2 separate regions of the Homo sapiens genome follow, and region 1 is linked to region 2. Evidence: promoter capture Hi-C in human tissues and cell types (Jung and others, 2019). All regions are on one chromosome and are shown on one strand. Each heading gives the region's core, a stretch centred on a gene start or on the middle of the fragment in contact. The rest is flanking DNA. Distances are from core to core; before and after follow the strand shown. Region 1 has its middle 46 kb from the start of LINC00951. Region 2 holds the start of DAAM2 (dishevelled associated activator of morphogenesis 2).

Region 1 (2,700 bases), core at 113-2,612, 520 kb after region 2:
CTCTCAACCTTGACAGGATCTAGGGCTGGGGGCTTGAGATAGTCAACCAACGCCCAGCCCCTGGACGGGGTTAGAGTCACTCCTCCACCTCGTGGTCATTGTTGGAACTACACCCTGGGAAAGCCTGTCCTGAGAGGCACTTACTCCAAGGGATGATGGAGGAGGTTTGATGATGATGGTGATGGTGATGATGTGATGATAATGGTGATGATGTGATGATAATGATGATGGGTCATGAGTGTAATCACTTACCTCTTGCCACTTTCTGCTCACATCACCTCCTCAAAAGGGCTTTTCCCTGACCACCCTGTGTAAAATAGCACCACCACTCTCCTTAACCCTGCCTTATTTTTTGTAGCACTTATCATCTAAAATATTATTAGTTTGCTTATTTGTTGTTCGTGTAAGCTCCAGGAAAGCAGGAGCTGTGTTTTTTTTCACTGATGTATCCTGTGTAGCTAGGATTACCTCACAGTTAGCAAGTGTTCAATAAATATTTGTGAAGTGAAGGGGTTGGTAAATGACTCCTCAATCTCTCCCTGTGCCCAGCAGTCCTCCCAGCTCCTGGCAAGGCCACAGATCCCTCTCCCGCAGACTGAGTTTGCCTGTAATACTGGGAACAATCCCCATGCTCGTCTGGGAGATGTAAGGACCCTGTGTTAGTCTGTTTTGCATTACTAAAGGAACACCTGAAGCTTGGTAATTTATAAATAAAGGAGATTTATTTAGCTCATGGTTCTGCAGGCTGTACAAGAATGGCACAGGCATCTGCTCAGCTTCTGGTGAGGTCTCAGGAAGCTTTTACTCATGGCAGAAGGCAAAGGAGGAGCAGGTGTGTCACATGGAGAGAGAGGGAGCAAGACAGAGGGGAGGAGGTGCCAGCCTCCTTTTGACAACCAGCTCTTGGAGTGAACTAATAAAGTGGGAACTCATTCATTACTGCAAGGATGACACCAAGCCATTCATAATGGATCCTCCCCTATGACCCAAACACCTCCCACTAGGTCCCATCACTTTTCAACATGAGATTTGGAGGGGACACACATCCAAACTATATCAGACTCCAGGTCTCAAATCTGCTGGTTTGGCCCCCACCGGCCTGTGGTGGTCTTGCCCTTGGTGGTCAAGACCCTGCCCTTGGTCCTCGCCTTTAGCATCTGCATCCCATGGTGTCATTCCTTGCATCTGCGTCCTCCCTGCCTCATCCCAGTGTCCATGCATGTTGCCCTCCCACTGATTGCCAGGCCCTGGGCTGGGTGTTTTGTGTTCACTACCTCTGATCTTCATGGCACCCTGCAAGGTGGGCATTGATTATCCTCATTTTTAGATGAGAAATGAGTTCAGAGAGATGGCACAACTTTGCACATGTGATTTATGCCACCCCTGTGTTTTCCAGAGATGGTCCCAATGATGCTAATGGGTGAAACAAATAAAGAAAAATACACATAAAATAAAGTTTCCATGGTGAGAAATTTCAGAAAACACTGGGTTCAGCAAAGCAGAATTTTTTCTATCAGGACTTCTTAGACTCTTTAAAATGACCATGTGCATGGCAGCCCCCAGTGGGGAGGGGTATATGCAGGGCACAACATTTCCCAAACCTATCTGAATTTGGAACCACTTATCCAAGGAGCATCTCACAGGACATGGCTTGGATAACAAATGCAAAATCGGTTTCAATCCTCCTGGTCAGGAATTAAGATCAGTGGATCAAGATCGGTTTCAATCCTCCTGGTCAGGAATCAAGATCAGTGGATCAAGATTTGTTTCAATTCTCCTGGTCAGGAGTCAAGATCAGCGGATCAAGATCGATTTCAATCCTTCTGGTCAGGAATCAAGATCAGTGCATCAAGATTGGTTTCAATCCTTCTGGTCAGGAATCAAGATCAGTGGATCCAGATTGGTTTCAATCCTCCTGGTCAGGAGTCAAGATCAGTGGATCAAGATTTGTTTCAATCCTCCTGGTCAGGAGTCAAGATCAGCGGATCAAGATCGATTTCAATCCTTCTGGTCAGGAATCAAGATCAGTGCATCAAGATTGGTTTCAATCCTTCTGGTCAGGAATGCCAGGGGTGTAAGTGGGTGAAAGTCAGGCCACTCCTGCGTGTATCTTATTTGATCTCCGCAACAGCTCCATGAAGAAGGAATCCTTATCCTCACTTTCCAGATGGGGAAGCTGAGGCTCAGGAAACTAAAGTAATTTTTCTATGTTGCCCGTAAATATTTGAAGCTAGTGGAGTGTGACTATTCACCGGGTGCTCTTGAATGATGGCGAGAGGGAAAAGGATTAAGACAGTTCACCGGGAACCAGGAGACATGGTAGTAGACATGGGATCTACATGAAAGGAGTTCAGGGAGGAGGATGTGACTGTGTCCAGTCTCAGGGAGTCACCCCAGCCCTGACACACGATGACTGCCACCATAACTTCCACGCTCCTCGGTCCAAGTTCTCAGGATGCTCCTGCAGTTTTAATTAAACGCTGTGTATGGTGGCTCATTAAGGAGAAAACAGTTGTTCTGTATCTAAGTAGCCTCAGGTCTCTTCACCACTTTTACTGCTCAAACAACATCGCAGATAATTTTATAGTGTTTGGACTTGGTATTGCCTCTAAGCCTGGCAGGACCTCCAGGCCAGAGCTGTGTGGCAAATCACTCTGCTCCAAGGACACCGCCCTCATTTCAACAAGGATTCCTGGTCAG
Region 2 (2,871 bases), core at 361-2,860:
AAACCTATTTGCAGGGTCTGCTGAAGAACAGAGCTCACCTTGCCAGTGGAGCCTTGATATGAGAGAGGGAATGGAAGGAGGTAAAAGTGGGGTATTATGCCAGGGAGAGCAATCCCACAGTGACCAAACAGCAGCTCCCTGCTGCAGGGCCCTCGGTGGCTTGGGTCAAAACAGCGTGGCCTCTACCGAGAGGCCCAGCCCTAAGACAGCTCCTTCTGGCAATCAGCTCTAACCAGCTGCTGCCAAAGAGGTAAACACATTCCAAGTCCTTGAGTCCCTGCTGCACTGTAACTGTGGTTAAAACACAACCCCGCCTCTACCAGTTTGGGCTAATGGAAAGTTCACTATAGTTGTGTTTTAATGATGATTTGCAATTATCCGTGCCCCCTCCCATTCATGGTGAGATGAATACCTAAACACTTATGTTGTCTAACCATATAAGTATTTTGCATCTCACGTGTATCATTTTAAGTTCATTTCATTCTCCAATCCTTGGGAACCATGAAGGATAACACATTACATTCTCTTTTTTTTTTTTTTTTCCTCTGGAAGATCATGCATTACATTCTCTTTTTTTCTCTGGAAGGGTGGCCCTTAAACCAAGCCATTTCCCTAAGCCCCTTTGGTGAGGTGGAGAAACAGACAACCACTAACACAGAACAACCACTGAACACCCAGAAAACTGTATACAGGTCATCACCCAGTGGGGGCACCATTTGCTTGCAGAGGGAGCTGGGGAAAATAGGAAACAGAGAAGATCAAATACTCCCCGTGAGGGTGTTGCCAATCCCAGAGAGGACAATTGCTCTTGACCAAAGCAATCTCTAGTTCAGTCAAGGAGACAGACCACAATCACATTTAAAAAAAAAAGAAAAAAAAAAACTAAAAGGAAATTTTAAAAGTATGAATAAGAGCTATTGTAAACTGCTCAAACTATGCATACAAGCAATGAAGTAAGATGAATTGACTGGCACTGAATTGGAAAAGCTATACAGAGGCAGGGAGTGTGGAACATAATTTAATAAAAATAAACTTAAAAAAATATATATACACTCCCAAAAAAGAAATGGAAAAGTTGTTAGGGCGTGGACCAGGACTCCTAATTAGCTGTTCTGTTGTGCCTGATTTCGCTCCTGTCTTGCCCAGCACCCCTTGGGACACACTGTCCAGTGCAGGGACACTTTGGGGAGGGACAGGGGATTCCTTGGCACCGGGACCTTCACCTCCGAGCCGGCCTCAGACCAGGCCATTTGCCCGTAGCCCAGAGGAGGAGCCGGGGAGAAACCCGCTGCCCAGGTGGCCACTTTTGCCTCTTTGACCCTTCCATGTTTCCAAAACAGAAGGGGCCCTGAGAACGCTCCCTGCCAAAGTGGGGAACAGCTACCCTCATTGTACGCCTCGCCCTGCCGGTGGCGCTCTCCCCCCGCCTGCGTTCGGTCTGAAAGTGTGAAAATTACAAATCCCAAGAAACTGCAATCAGAAGTCTACCTAGGGAAAATTCAGAGTAACCTTGCCATAAATATCCCGCTCCAAGACGCCTGACGTCAGAGCGGGGCGGGCGGACGGGCGCGAGGCCGGGCCTGGAGGGGCGGCAGCCGCGGCTTCCCGGGGATAGCGCGGAGCACGCAGCAGCGAGCGGAGCGCGGGCGGCGGCGCCGTACCTCGGGCTGCGGGAGCGCGGGCGCCCTGGGGTCCTCGGAGTAAGTGCGGCCGGCCCTGGCGCTCCCCGTCTTGGGGCCCGGGCCGCGGGGAGCCCTCTCCGCTGGGCTCCCACACTTCTCTCCCTCTGCTTTCTTTAGCATGCCCCGCGGGGCTTGGGGAGGCAGCAGCTCCGCAGGCTGGCGGTTTTGTTTCTCCAAAGTGTTTGCAGGAGCCGCCGACCCCGGAGTGGGCTCCCAGGGCCTGTGTGTGTGTGAGTTGTGTGTGTGTATGAGTGTGATTGCGTGTGTCTGTACTGGCACATCTGGACATAGGAAATGTCTTTGGAAAACTTTTTAAAAATGTTTTTTGCGGCTTTGAAACCTGACCCCTGGTTGTCACAAGTGGACAAACACAGAAGATACCCCGCAAAACTGACAACTTTTTGGTGGTGGCTTTTCCGGGTTCGGCTTGAACCTTCACTTGGCTGGGCTGAAGTCTTCACAAGCCCCCAGCTCCCACTTGCAGGCCTGGCCTCTGGCCAGTGGGCAGGGCAGCCGTAAGGTTCTTGTTCTCAGTGGCAGTGGGACCCTGGGCGGGGGAAGGAGCATCTCAGGAAAGGGGTCCCCGGACTCTGGGGCTCTCAGCACCTGCGGTCGCAAACCAACCTCATGCCCTGACTTTACCAGGCGTCGGGACTCTGACTTAACCGGGGAATGAGGGACTTGGTCTGGCGGCAGGTAATTTTGTGAAGAGGATGAGAAGGAAGAGGGGGAGGTGGTGGTGATGGCCAGGACGCTGTGGCCCTGTGTCCAGCCGTAGCTTGGGAGTGGGATGGTTGGTTCTGCCACATGGCCACGGTGAGGTACGTGCCAGGTTCTCCAGGAGTGCCGCGTGTGGTGCCCCAAACAAGATGCAAGCTCCTAACATAAAGAGACGTGTCTGAGCTGTGGGGTGGAGGAAGGGGGGCGGTGGGGGAGAGGGAGATTTTTATCAAAATTGAACACAGATTGCTGAGATCTGGGCTTGATTTAACTCTTCTCTCTCTGCCTCGGCCACTTCTCCACAGTTTTGGAGTGGATTTGGAACGTTTCTCGGAGGGTTAGAGGAAAATCACACCTCTCCGGAAAAGAGTCCCCATAGGTTTTCCCTTGATGCCCACGTGGGAATGAAAGCAGCTTCCCATCTTTAAAAAGTTCAAAGTCTTGTGTTTTCCCCCTTCTGAGTTTGGTG

What was found. Contacts are between HindIII fragments. The study calls those that stand out against the background at their distance.
Region 1: a fragment that was not itself captured here is called in contact with the fragment with the promoter of DAAM2 in region 2 in 1 of the 25 tissues and cell types used here (H1 embryonic stem cells).

The regions. Positions count from the first base shown.
Region 1 is chr6:40,308,792-40,311,491 of GRCh38, forward strand. No RefSeq gene overlaps it. Among named protein-coding and RNA genes, the nearest start is that of LINC00951, 46 kb to the right of the region's middle. RefSeq lists an enhancer at 1-367. The HindIII fragment of the contact is 5,396 bases long and covers 1-2,700 here.
Region 2 is chr6:39,790,766-39,793,636 of GRCh38, forward strand. It overlaps DAAM2 (dishevelled associated activator of morphogenesis 2), which reads left to right and starts at 1,611. Exons shown (of 25, transcript NM_001201427.2): 1 at 1,611-1,700. The HindIII fragment of the contact is 10,904 bases long and covers 1-2,871 here.